5 separate regions of the Homo sapiens genome follow, and regions 1, 3, 4 and 5 are each linked to region 2. The links are contacts of gene promoters, found by promoter capture Hi-C in blood cells and fetal thymus (Javierre and others, 2016). All regions are on one chromosome and are shown on one strand. The core of a region is centred on a gene start or on the middle of the fragment in contact, and the rest is flanking DNA. Distances in the headings are between cores, read along the strand shown.

Evidence for each region. Contacts are between HindIII fragments. The CHiCAGO score rates a contact against its expected background, and 5 or more counts as called.
Region 1: a fragment that was not itself captured here is called in contact with the fragment with the promoter of VEGFC in region 2 in 2 of 17 cell types (megakaryocytes and endothelial precursors); the score reaches 10.0 in megakaryocytes.
Region 3: a fragment that was not itself captured here is called in contact with the fragment with the promoter of VEGFC in region 2 in 2 of 17 cell types (megakaryocytes and endothelial precursors); the score reaches 9.2 in megakaryocytes.
Region 4: a fragment that was not itself captured here is called in contact with the fragment with the promoter of VEGFC in region 2 in 2 of 17 cell types (endothelial precursors and megakaryocytes); the score reaches 6.5 in endothelial precursors.
Region 5: a contact is called between a fragment that was not itself captured here and the fragment with the promoter of VEGFC in region 2, in 1 of 17 cell types (endothelial precursors). The highest score is 7.5, in endothelial precursors.

Annotation. Positions count from the first base shown.
Region 1 is chr4:176,962,122-176,964,821 of GRCh38, reverse strand. No RefSeq gene overlaps it. Among named protein-coding and RNA genes, the nearest start is that of LINC02509, 88 kb to the right of the region's middle. The HindIII fragment of the contact is 971 bases long and covers 950-1,920 here.
Region 2 is chr4:176,791,627-176,794,326 of GRCh38, reverse strand. VEGFC (vascular endothelial growth factor C) reads left to right here and starts at 1,405. Exons shown (of 7, transcript NM_005429.5): 1 at 1,405-2,162. The coding sequence starts at 2,016. The HindIII fragment of the contact is 3,942 bases long and covers 1-2,262 here.
Region 3 is chr4:176,922,670-176,925,369 of GRCh38, reverse strand. No RefSeq gene overlaps it. Among named protein-coding and RNA genes, the nearest start is that of LINC02509, 48 kb to the right of the region's middle. The HindIII fragment of the contact is 1,355 bases long and covers 681-2,035 here.
Region 4 is chr4:176,941,899-176,944,598 of GRCh38, reverse strand. No RefSeq gene overlaps it. Among named protein-coding and RNA genes, the nearest start is that of LINC02509, 68 kb to the right of the region's middle. The HindIII fragment of the contact is 315 bases long and covers 1,293-1,607 here.
Region 5 is chr4:177,024,290-177,026,989 of GRCh38, reverse strand. No RefSeq gene overlaps it. Among named protein-coding and RNA genes, the nearest start is that of LINC02509, 150 kb to the right of the region's middle. The HindIII fragment of the contact is 2,653 bases long and covers 1-2,617 here.

The DNA of each region.
Region 1 (2,700 bases), core at 186-2,685, 170 kb before region 2:
ATGTCTTGAACCCAGGAGGCGGTGGCTGCAGTGAGGCAAGATTTTGCCAGTGTACTCCAGCCTGGGTGACAAGAGTGAAACTCCGTCTGAAAGAAAGAAAGAAAGAAAAAGAAAGAAAGGAAGGAAGGAAGGAAGGAAAGGGAAGGAAAGAAAAGAAAAGAAAAGAAAAGAAAAGAAAAGAAAAGAAAAGAAAAGAAAAGAAAAGAAAAAAGATGGGGGAGCTCTACAGAGCTGATTCAGATCCCAAGGGAGAGAACCTGCTGGACTAATACTGGTCCCTCAGAAGCTTAGAGAAGTAGCCCCGTGGAGCTGGGATTGAGCTGTAAGAGGAAGGAGAGCCCACCAACTGAAGCATATTCAGGTTGATTCTCAAAATGTGGCAGGGATGGGGGATGGGGGAATTGCCATGTTGCCACTGCCAGTGGAATGAACAGCCTGAAGGGTGACTGATAAGACAGAAAGCAATCAGAAATCAACAGTTCCTTTTGTTCTTCTTCAGCCTACTACTACCGTCTCTACCACCCCCTACTGGCAGGGCTGGAGCTATCTGGCAAAATAAAAAAATGTTATTGGTAGAGTGTCGACCACAACATCCCAAAACAATATATAGAAGGCAAGATTTGAAACTGAGGAAAAGTAGCTTGCTGACTACCACAAGGATCTTACATATGTTACCAAATGAGTCACTGGATGATGCATTTTCTAATTTACAGTTTTATAGAATCTATAGGATCCTATTTTAATGGGGAATATTATTAACATAATTAAATGTGAACAAAATAAAATCAATTTGAAATCATATCCCCTAAACTAAAGATGGTGTGTATTCTCATTATGAAAAACTGAGATTAAAAACAGGAAAAGCCAAAGTAGGTTTAAACTGTAATAACTGCTTGTGAATACATATATCTTAGATTTTCTGGATAGTCTTGATTTCAAAAATTAAGCTTTAATGTTGAAATTGTTGAAAATGCTTGAAAAATGTTTCCTTGTAAATATGTGTGTGTCCACAGGTTGGTGTGTGTGTGTGTGTAAGTGTTTTTAATGCGTATGTAGAAAAGTGATTGATACTTTGGATTGAGTAAAAATAAATTATTTTAACTGAAGTCTAGCTTAAATATTCTCTGGTCTCTGGCATGGATCCTTAAAAAGTCAACTACAGTTTTTAATGGAGAGAAGTGAAGATGACATCTGGCTGATGCAGGCATATATTTTGGTTACATTCCACTTCACACTGGAAGAAAAAGGAATATTTGGGCAAATAATATAAATGAACTAAAAATATAACTTTAGTTGTCATAGGCAACCTTTTTCTTCCAAGGAGAAGAAAGGATAAGGATAAGAAACACATGGAAAACAAGATACATGTTCTGAAAGTACACACAAGAGAAATCTAAGAATAACATGAACACATATGCTGTTTGCAACTAATCAAGCAAATTACCATCCAAAAACGCTTAATGTTCCTCAATGAATTCTCATTTACTTCTAAGAGTCGTTTTTGTAGACCCATTTTCCTTCCAGCTGGCAATGAAAAAGTAAAGTAAAAACTGTTAGGAACAAAGGATAAGAAGAGTAATTTTCAGCAATTCCATTGAGGCACAGCAGCACAAATCACCCTTCTTCAGTTCCACTTAAAACACTATCTTGTTCAAAGGAAACTATTTTGTTAAGTAAGTCATAGAATATGTGTTAGCATATATCATGGAAATCATGTATCATGCCCCCACAATTTTCTTGTTTTAATTTGTCATTCACTTCAGAATCTGAGACTAAAAAGTATGTAAGTATAGATTTTAAATTTGTATTTTTGTAAATGTTCCAATTTCCTCATTATTGGTTTCAGTTATAAATAAATATCTACTAATGCTTTATTTATGTTGCTACCTAACTCAGGTAACTGCTTTAACTCAACAAGCTTTTGCTTTGTTTTGTTTGATTTTTTTGTTTGTTTGTTTGGCTTTGTTTTGAAGTTAGAAACATAGGAACGCTAAACTTAGAAGTTTATATTATATAATGCTATAAACTCCTAAATACTTATTCTATTATTTAAAATGAAAAGCCGTATGAGATTTAAGAGGGGGGGCTTTGGGAGGGAAAATGCATGGTAAAGTAACAAAGTTAGAAATACACAAACAATAGAAGGATTAAAAAAAATTCTCATCATATATGAAACAATGTGATAACACAACAACAAAACAAACAGAAAACAAAGGGAAGCAGTTGATTCTGGTGCTATACTTTCCTTGAGTTATGAGTGCTGAAAAAGCAATGCTATCTTTCTTCCTGTTTATTATTACTTCTACTTCTCTAAATCACATATTGTATAATAATCTATTCACTGAAATTTAGACCTTTTATGGCCTAGTATTGATCAATTTTGTGAATATTCTGAGAATAAGATGGGGGAGAACCTTTATTTTTATCTGTATAGCTAGTGGGTCACACTTGTTACCTCTTATTTCATATTTTCTATTTTTTTGTTCTGTTTTATCTGTCAATAACAGGAGCAAAATATTTCCATTATGGTCAGTTTGGGACTTACTCCTTTAGTTATACCTACCTTCTTTGCCTTATATTTTTAGGCTATTTTAGAAACTCGAACTTTAAAATTTCTGCATCCTTTCGGTTAACAGAACCTATGAAAATAGCAGGTTCTATTAACTATCAAATAGAAGGTAATGAACCTTCCTACCTCAA
Region 2 (2,700 bases), core at 156-2,655:
TCAACAAAGGCATACTGTCCATTCTGCATGCTCATTACAGCACTAAGTACCGAGCCATGTTCTCAACCGCATACTTCATGAACATGGAAAGCTAACAGTATGGTTAAGGGGGGAAACTGGAACTGTCATCTTGGGGAATAAAAGGGATATTTAGCCAGGAGTAAAGTTAGCTTAGGGAGACCATGATAAATATTTTCAAAATATTTGAAGGACTCAGTTGTGGAAGTGAGATTAGATTTATTGTGTAAAACTCCAGGAGTCAAAAGCAATAGAGAGATAGAAGGAAATGCTTTTCAGCAGTGTTGCTCATCAATAAAGGGAGTGAACAGCCACACAGAATGGAAGGTTCCCTGTCCTTTGAGATATTTAAGCCTTCAAGTAAATTATGGGTGAGGAGTTTCAAATCTAGAGTTGAACCAGATAAGAAAGTCTCTTCTTCCGGTAAGATATTATGGACCTATAACATCTGTGTACTTAAAAGTAGATTGGGAGTGAAAGGCAGACTTTTGATGTTCTGTACACTGTTGAAACCCCTTAGCGTGGTCCTCTGTAACCTGCTCACCCTGCCCCAAGGAGGCAGCTAGCCAATGCCACCAGCCCAACGGAAACCCCAGTGCTTTTCCAATGGGGAAATGCAGTCACTTTTCTTTGGATGCTACACATCCTTTCTGGAATATGTCTCACACACATCTCTCTTTATCACCCCCTTTTTCAAGTAAACCAACTTCTTGCAGAAGCTGACAATGTGTCTCTTTACTCTCCACGAAGATTCTGGCCCTTCTCTTCACCTGTCAGAAGTTTAGGATTCCAAAGGGATCATTAGCATCCATCCCAACAGCCTGCACTGCATCCTGAGAACTGCGGTTCTTGGATCATCAGGCAACTTTCAACTACACAGACCAAGGGAGAGAGGGGACCCCTCCGAGGTCCCATAGGGTTCTCTGACATAGTGATGACCTTTTCTTGGAACTTTTACAACCCCCAGGACATTTCCAAACTTTGAGCAGGGCTCTGGGGGCCAGGCGTGCGGGAGGGAGGACAAGAACTCGGGAGTGGCCGAGGATAAAGCGGGGGCTCCCTCCACCCCACGGTGCCCAGTTTCTCCCCGCTGCACGTGGTCCAGGGTGGTCGCATCACCTCTAAAGCCGGTCCCGCCAACCGCCAGCCCCGGGACTGAACTTGCCCCTCCGGCCGCCCGCTCCCCGCAGGGGACAGGGGCGGGGAGGGAGAGATCCAGAGGGGGGCCGGGGGAGGTGGGGCCGCCGGGGAGGAGGCGAGGGAAACGGGGAGCTCCAGGGAGACGGCTTCCGAGGGAGAGTGAGAGGGGAGGGCAGCCCGGGCTCGGCACGCTCCCTCCCTCGGCCGCTTTCTCTCACATAAGCGCAGGCAGAGGGCGCGTCAGTCATGCCCTGCCCCTGCGCCCGCCGCCGCCGCCGCCGCCGCTCAGCCCGGCGCGCTCTGGAGGATCCTGCGCCGCGGCGCTCCCGGGCCCCGCCGCCGCCAGCCGCCCCGCCGCCCTCCTCCCGCCCCCGGCACCGCCGCCAGCGCCCCCGCCGCAGCGCCCGCGGCCCGGCTCCTCTCACTTCGGGGAAGGGGAGGGAGGAGGGGGACGAGGGCTCTGGCGGGTTTGGAGGGGCTGAACATCGCGGGGTGTTCTGGTGTCCCCCGCCCCGCCTCTCCAAAAAGCTACACCGACGCGGACCGCGGCGGCGTCCTCCCTCGCCCTCGCTTCACCTCGCGGGCTCCGAATGCGGGGAGCTCGGATGTCCGGTTTCCTGTGAGGCTTTTACCTGACACCCGCCGCCTTTCCCCGGCACTGGCTGGGAGGGCGCCCTGCAAAGTTGGGAACGCGGAGCCCCGGACCCGCTCCCGCCGCCTCCGGCTCGCCCAGGGGGGGTCGCCGGGAGGAGCCCGGGGGAGAGGGACCAGGAGGGGCCCGCGGCCTCGCAGGGGCGCCCGCGCCCCCACCCCTGCCCCCGCCAGCGGACCGGTCCCCCACCCCCGGTCCTTCCACCATGCACTTGCTGGGCTTCTTCTCTGTGGCGTGTTCTCTGCTCGCCGCTGCGCTGCTCCCGGGTCCTCGCGAGGCGCCCGCCGCCGCCGCCGCCTTCGAGTCCGGACTCGACCTCTCGGACGCGGAGCCCGACGCGGGCGAGGCCACGGTAGGTCTGCGTTAGGGTTTGCGGAGAACCCGAGAGTTTGCGTTAGGGTCTGCGGCGGACCCGAGAACCTGCGCGGGGGAAAGTGTGTGTGCTTTAAGCTTGTGTACGTGGGATCCAAAGTTACTGAGCTCAGTGCACGCTGCTTTGGAGAAAAATCTTCTTCTTTTTAAATAGAAAGTTGTTACTAGAGAGGCAAGCAAGTTACACGAGTGAAGGGCCCGGAGAGGTGCCCAGTGAGAGATCCCGAAATCTATTTCAGACTGGTTTCCTCTGGGGCAACCAAGGGGTCTTGAACCCTGCCCAGTCAGCGGGGCTCTGGAGAGTATGAGTTCATTTTGGTCGGGAAATGCTCGTTTCTTTCCCCAGCTGATTCATGGGACTCCAAACAGATTCTGGGACACTGGTGATCAGTCAACCCAGCCTTACTTTCCTGGAGTGTTCATAGTCTGCAGAGCACCAGGCGCTGTGAGCGACTTTAGAAAAAAAGTGTCAGGGACTTTAGTAACCAGGCTCCAGAGCTTTCAGAGTTCACTTGAAG
Region 3 (2,700 bases), core at 109-2,608, 130 kb before region 2:
ATGATAGCCGACTCTCCATGCCACAGGTCCTTTCAGGTCTTCTGCTCTTACTTAAAAACTATTTTAATCCTTAAAACAACTCTGTGAGCTAAGCATTATTGTTATTCCAGTTTTCGAATGTGAAACTGAGGTGCAGAGATGTTACATAACTTGCTCAAGATCACACAAGCTGTAAATGGCAGACATGGAATTAAAACCTAGACAATCTGGCACTTGAGTGAATAAGCTTAGCCAGTTCATAGACTAGAATTCCATGAGTTTGAGATAATATAACAATGATCTGAAAGGTTAACAGTGTTTAAGGAGACTAAAAAAAAAAAAAAGAGCAAAATAGTAAAATAAGCATATAGAATATAAAATATATAAACATAAATCAACTATATAAAGGATATAGAAATAAATAAAGTAGTATAATATATGAATGTATATATATAATTATATATTTTATATATAATCATATATAAAATCATACACTTATATAAATATATATTATTTATATGTAATATAAAATATGTATAAAATATATAAATAAGTTTATAAAGTATATAAAAACATAAAATAGTGTATTTATATTACACTGTAAATATTTTACTAATATATTTTTATTATTTCCCTGAGCTTTTCTGTTATTGTCAATTTTTTTTTCATTTTACTGTGCTATCACTGAATTTTCAAAAGCTTACTTCTCTTATAATTTGAAAAAAATTCTCACTAACAAAAGACTTCGTTTTACTAAAAGTCACTGTGTGGAGGGGTTTATATATATATGTATACACACACACCATATATATATAAACCATATAGATATATAATCATATATATAAACCATATAGATATATAAGCCATATATATACATACACACATTAGATAGATAGATTGATTAGATAGATAGATCAATCGATCGATCGATCAATCGATAATACTACACTGTACAGTCATCATCATGAACTTGGTTGCTTTTCCTGGTCTGAAATAGTCATTTCCCTTCTTAATGGTCACAAACAGAAAAATAATCAGCATTCCTAATCCCTGTGGGAGTATTTTCACAAAAGGTCATACATACATATTGAAATAATTTTAAAAATGAAAATCAGAGTGATCATTGAAAACACTGAAGACTCCAAAGTTTGACATTTTTCTCATCATAGATTACACATACAGTACTAACATTTTTTAGGTCACTAAACATGACTAATATGTTTTGAATAATCCTTATTATTTTCTCCAATTTACTGTTTCTTTTAATAAATTCAACTGAATTATTTTCATCTGAGCAAATTCTCTCTGATTTTTCAGGACTTCTTTTCTCCTAACACCCCCAAACAGCATTCAATCAGCCTCATATTCTATTAAAATGGGCCTTTTAATGAGAAATCGATATGCATGGATTACTGATTTTGTACCAGACATTTTATATATATTGCTATAAGAAGTCAGGTCTCGAAGAGATCAATTAGCTTGCTGAAGGATTCTTTATGAGTGGACCTAAGGACCTAAGGGTCTGTGTAACCATAAACTCAAGCTCTTCAGCAGGTAAGCGACCTTCTGAGATAATAATGGAGGAAGGAGGGAGGCATTCCAGTGACATTTGGAAGAAAGAATCTCTTCCTCCTTTGAATGCCCAGAGCACTTTACCGATAGATATTTATTTATTTTTTCATTTTTTTAAATAATGTCAACTTTTATTTTAGATTCAGGGGGGTACATGTGCAGGTTTGTTACATGGGTATATTTCATGATGGTGGGGTTGGGGCGGGATTAATCCCATCACCCAGGTAGTGAGCATAGTACCTAATAGTTAGCTTTTCAAGCCTTTCCTCACCCCACCACCCCTTCTAGAAGTCCCCAGTGTTTATTGTCCTATCATTATTTAAATCCTCTTGTTTCTCCTAACAAATATTAATTTTAATCATAATAAAAATCTCTACCATTATTGAGTTCTTACTTTGCTCCTGAGCTCTTTTGAAAGGGCATTGCATGCATTCATACATTTAATTTGTATAACACATTTATGAGGTTGCTCCTATTATAAGCTTTAGTTTATCAATTTATCAACGGAGAAGAAAAAGATTAAGTGACTTGCCATGATCATACCTGGCACATAGCAACAATGTTACCACGATTTCCTAAAGATATCTATGAACAAATAAACACTTTTATACATATCAATATTACTTTATTAGAAAGTAGAAAAGTCTCCTCTAAATTGCAAGTGTGTGATGCCAGGAGTTTGAGACCAGCCTTGTCAACATGGCAAAAACCCCGTTTCTACTAAAAATACAAAAATTAGCCGGGCATGGTGGCACGTGCCACCGGCTACTCAGGAGACTGAGGCAGCAGAATCGCTTCCACCCGGGAGGTGGAGGATGCAATGATCAGAGATCTTACCACTGCACTCCAGCCTCGGTGACAGGAGGAGACTCTGCCTCAAAAATAATAAATAAATAAATAGCAAGTGTGTTATCTGATATATTTTATATCCTCATAGTTTCCTGATTTTTTTCAAAGTTGATAGCAATAAGGTTATTGAGGGAAAGAACTTTTTGGTAATGATTCTAAAATGTGAGGTAGTGAAGAGCTGAGAAGAGTCGTGTCAATTCTTATTAGCAGCAAATAACACTTTTCATTTACCCATTTGTTTCTTACCCCCTTTCAATTTCTTTATAGTATGACTCTAATCAGTTTCATTTTCAAGTCTCT
Region 4 (2,700 bases), core at 201-2,700, 150 kb before region 2:
TTTGTAGATGTGATTAAGCATAGAGACATTACACTGGTGAGACTATCCTGGATTATTCAAATGGGTCCAGTCTCATCACATGTGCTGTTGAGAGCATGACAGAAAAGCAGGTAAGTGTGTCAGAAAGAGGGAGCATGAGAAAGGTTTGAGGCCTTGTTGCTGGTTTGGGGATGTAAAGGAAACTATGTGCATGGACCAAAAAGATGCCTGTGGGAGCTGAGAGTGGTCCATCTGACAGCCAGCAAGGGCACAGACTCAGTCCTACCACTGCATGGATTTTGCTAACACCTGAATGAGCAAGGAGATGGATTCTCCCCAAGGGCCTATAGCAGGGAACACAGCCCTGCTCCCACTGAGGTTTATGTCTGGTGAGACCTTTCCTCTTCTCCCCGCAGAACTGTAACATCATAAATTTGTGTTGTTGTAAGCCACTAAGTGTGTGGTCATTTCTTATGGCAGAAATAGAAAAACAGCACACAATGGTTTCCTAAAATTGCATGCAATATTTTAGAAATTTGTATATCACCATTTTTCTGATGAAAGAGGCTATTTTATGAGTCTTAAGAGTCAATCACACACAAACTCAAGAACTACTGAACTCTTTTATCCTTTCCCATATCATAGCGACAAAAACACCCTCATGCATGGTGAATGCAGAACATTTTTCATGTCTTACATTCAAGTGAGGAAAGTGTTTTGTGACAAACAACGAGATGCAAGAGCACTCAGAATAGTGATCTCCTTTCTGCTGCCTTGCCCTCTGTACCTCTGAGCGAGGTCATCTTGGCTTTCATTTACTCTTTCCTCGGGACTGTGGGGTATTTTGGTTAGTCAGGATGGACTGTAAGTTCCTAGAGGACAGGATCTTTTTTTTTTTAACTCTCAAGAGGCACAGTACTTTGTGATGGTAAGTTTTGAAAATAATATTCACATGATTGAATCAAAAAGGTAAGTTTCTATCTGAAGATAGTGAGCTGGTCTGCATACCATTTGAGATTCTGTCCAGAACTATGATACCGTTTATATATGAAGGTATTCTTTATATGTCTACGTCTTATTTTCTCTACAAAAGGGGAGTTCCCTGGTTTCTGTGGGAAAAAAAAATCTTAGTGCTCTCAGATTAATTTACAAAATGAGAGTGTGGATCATGGGAAAATCATTGGTATAGAAGCTTTGACATTTCTCACTGAACACCTTGGCTCTCTAAGGAATGTTTTCTATTTCAGTATGGCCGAAATCCCTGCAGGCTCCAGTGGAGCATGGCTGAATATTCAGAAATGTAATCAGAAGCTTAGCGATATTTATTAACAAATCATCATGGACCCAACTTTATTTGGATAAGCCCCAAGATTCACAGATAGAAAGAAATCCTAGGGGCTAAAGGACTACATTAAAAATTAAAGAGGAGAAAAAGGAGGAGGGTGAGAACTTAATAGTCTCATGTTTGTTATTGTTTTAGAATGACTTGAAATTGTAGAGTGATTGAATGCTGGCAAACAACACATCAGGAGAAGAGGATGCTAACTGAGAATGACTGCACATGATAACTTGCCTCATGTTTGGTCTTTTAAAAATATCTTCATAGAATATCAGGAATTAATGAAGCTTTGATAAAATGTGCAAAGGTTTCTCAATATAGAGGGACACTGAGCACCCAGACAGATGGAAAATTAGAAAAAAAAAAAGCCTAAAGAAGTTTGAAGCATGGTGAAAAAATAAGAAAATGAGATTCAACTTGAAATAATGTGAAGGAACATCTCTGTAGAAAAATAATCAGAAACAGACATTCAATGGAAGAGAAACAATTGGAAAGCACTCAAATCACAGTAAATTAGATGAAACTGAAATGTTATGAGGATTCAGGGGGAAAAACTAAAAATCATCTGGGTGGCCCATCATATTACGAAGCAAGAAAGTGTACCTGAACTGGAAATCACTTTGAGATAGAGCTCTTTTTCTCTTTTTCTATTTACAAACTCTGAGGAACTGGAAGGAGTTCAAAAAAGAACAGCAAATACAATTAAGAGTCTGGAGGGATTGATTTATATAGTGAGAGGAAAGAAATAAAGTATGCAGTCCTTGGCTAAAGACTTCTAGGAGAACATAATTGTCAAAAGTCTTTAAAGGATTTACGTACTGAGTCAATAGAGGGTGATTTAGTTCAATAAAAGGGAATCCAGGCAGAAACACAGTGAGATGAATGTAAACTCTAATGCTGAAAATATTTTTCTAATTTTGTTAATATGAAAATCTAGGCTGGGTGTGGTGGCCCATGCCTGTAATTTCAACGCTTTGGGAGGCCGAGGCAGGCAGATCACCTGAGGTCAGGAGTTCAAGACCATCCTGGCCAACATGGTGAAACATGTCTCTACTAAAAATACAAAACTTAGTCGGGCATGTTGGCCGGCACCTGTAATTCAGCTACTTGGGAGGCTGAGGCAGGACAATTGCTTGAACCCGGGAGGCAGAGGTTGCAGTGAGCCAAGATCACACCATTGCACTCCAGCCTGAGCAACAGAGCAAGACTGCGCCTCAAAAAAGACAAAAAATAAAAACAAAAGCAAACAAACAAACCAAAAAACACTAAAGTTCTGCCTGGGTTTCTTGGCTTTTTTTGGGTGTTTTCAACCCATTTTGAGACTTCTGTTAAGTGACCCAGGGACTTGTTTGTACCCCTGTCATGTAGTGTCTGCGATGTAG
Region 5 (2,700 bases), core at 42-2,541, 230 kb before region 2:
ATTCTTGCTATCTAAACCAACCTCTCTTTCAGACTAGTTTGAGGACATGCTAGTACATTAGAGATTGGTGACTGCTGCAATTCCCTTGCCATCCTTCTCTCTCTTAGTGCCAAGATTTCCTGATGACAATATCCAGGTATGGACTCCTTTGGATAATATTTGTCCTTCCACTTAATTAGTATCGGAATGGTGGAAGACGGCAATACAGATTGTGACTGGCTTAAGTGAAAATCCATTTCTGTGTATTATGCTCTGAGCTTCTTCACACCTGGGAAGTTGCAGAGCAGTTAAAGACAAAGTCCAATTAGAGAGAGCAGAGAATTTTACGGAATACAAACACTACCATAGCCAAAAATGTCTTTGATATCACATGTGATGTAAGGGCAAATAATGACATCAGAATAACTTATGGGTAGATTATAGACAACTACAAATTCTTTGCTACTCCTTCCACTAAGAGGGTGAGCTCTTATTTGCTTCTCCTGGGATCAGACAGGCTTTAGCCACTTGTTTGACCAATAGAAGGGAGTGGGTCTGAGGCCAGGTCATAAGAAGACTTATGGCTTCTACCCAGGCCTCCTGGAACACTCATTTCTGAAACCTATCTGCCCTGCTGGGAGAAAGATAGAGAGGCTCTCATGGGAAGGAAATGTCATTTCCTTCTGAGCAACTTTGGAAGTGGATCCTTCAGCTCCTTTCCAGGTGACACTATGCAGCACAGAGACATAGAGTCATCAAAGAGCACTGCCCAAAATGTGCATTCATGAGCAAAGTAAACTATTTTACTTGATTTAAGCTATCAAATTCTAAGGTGGTTTATTACACAGCAGAATATAATAATACTTGGTCATAATATTTCGAATTGCATAACAATCTCTTTAAATCATTAAAAGCTAACAGTTAAGATTTAAACTCTCCCAAAGACTAAAACTATAATGAGAGCTCAGCATTGAGAAGTAAGGTATGAAATATATGTTATCACTCCTTCCAAATCATGTTTCCTTTTTCTTCTTCTTCTTCTTTTTTTTTTTTTTTCTGAGACGGAGTCTCCCTCTGTCGCCCAGGCTGGAGAGCAGTGGTGCAATCTCAGCTCACTGCAACCTCCGCGTCCTGGGTTCAAGTGATTCTTCTGCCTCGGCCGCCCAAGTAGCTGGGACTACAGGCACGCGCCACCACACCCAGCTAACTTTTTGTATTTTTAGTAGAGATGGGGTTTCACCATATTGGCTAGGCTGGTCTTGAATTCCTGACCTCGTGATCTGCCTGCCTTGGCCTCCCAAAGTGCTGGGATTACAGGCGTGAGGCACCGCACCCGGCCCAAATAATGTTTTCTCTGAGTATACATATAAGTTGATGGAAGAAAAACTGAGAAATGTGATAGGAATCAACTGTTGTTTGATCCTCTTGTAAGAAAGATTAGTTAGATGATAGATGACTGGGAAGGGCAGTTGTTAAATGGTCGAATTAAAGGTGAACGTAGCTAAAACAAATCTCTGTAGGTCCAATGAAATTTCATTACTGAATAATTTTCCAAACTGCTTTGCAGGTGTTACTTGTAGAAAATGACTTAGCTTTTAGTCATTTATGCATCGTGGCCCATACCTGTAGTCCCAGATACTCAGGAGATCAAGGCAGGAGGATTGCTTGAGCCTGGGCAGTTGAGGTTGCGGTGAGCCATGATCATGCCACTGCCTCATGCCTGGACCATAAAGTGAGACTGTCTCAAAAAAAAAAAAAAAAAAAAAAAAAGAGGATTAAAATAGTTTTAAAAAATTTAGTTTAAAAAAAAAGAAAAAGAAATTATACTGGTGGAAGTAATGTAGCCATGGTCACTATCTACAGTGACAAATGGCAAAATTGGTCATAAAAATAAAGTGACAGGACTGTAGTATGAGTTAATAAAGATGATCAAACTAATTATAATCCCTGGCTAATATGGAGTTGATTTAGTCTCATTCTTGCCAATGGCTAAAGCAACATTGTTCAATAGAAATATAATGCAAGCCAAATTCAAAACCACATATAAAGTTTTAAGTTTTTTAGCAGCTACATTAAAAAGTGAAAAGAACTAGGTAAAATTATTTTTAATAATATATTCTTAAATACCAGCTCAAGTGTCACAGGTATTCCTAATGAAGTTAGGTAAAAGCAAGTTTATATTTTTTTCTATATCACTAAAATAAAAATACTTCTAGGATATTAATAAAATGAAGACACATCATCAAGAATGTAACTAATTGATAGTCTAAAGAATAACTTGTCTTGACACATTTTTTCATTATGTTTTTGGTGCTTGACACCATTACAGTTCTCTAATTTATTGTGTTATGTTTCAAATTAAAACTTGTCTATTTTGAATAAGCAAAATATTATTTTAGAAATAATTGCCCAAAATAAAAATAAAGTAATATTATAATTTCAGCACATGAAAGCATATAAAAATAATCTAGAGCATATTTTCAAGTTTATTCTATGAAAAAATACTTCTTAATTTAAGGCATAACATTATAAGAATCAAATTGTAAGGAACCAAAATTGTAAAAGTGCCTTCACAGTCACTTTGACTAATTGATAAGGAACGATTTCTAAGTCTGTCTAGCCCCTGGCGCCTGAAGCTTGGTAAAGACACATGATACACAGCAGTGTGGGGGCATTTGCAATACGTTCTCATACAAAGCCAGGCTCCTGTGAGCATTTGGT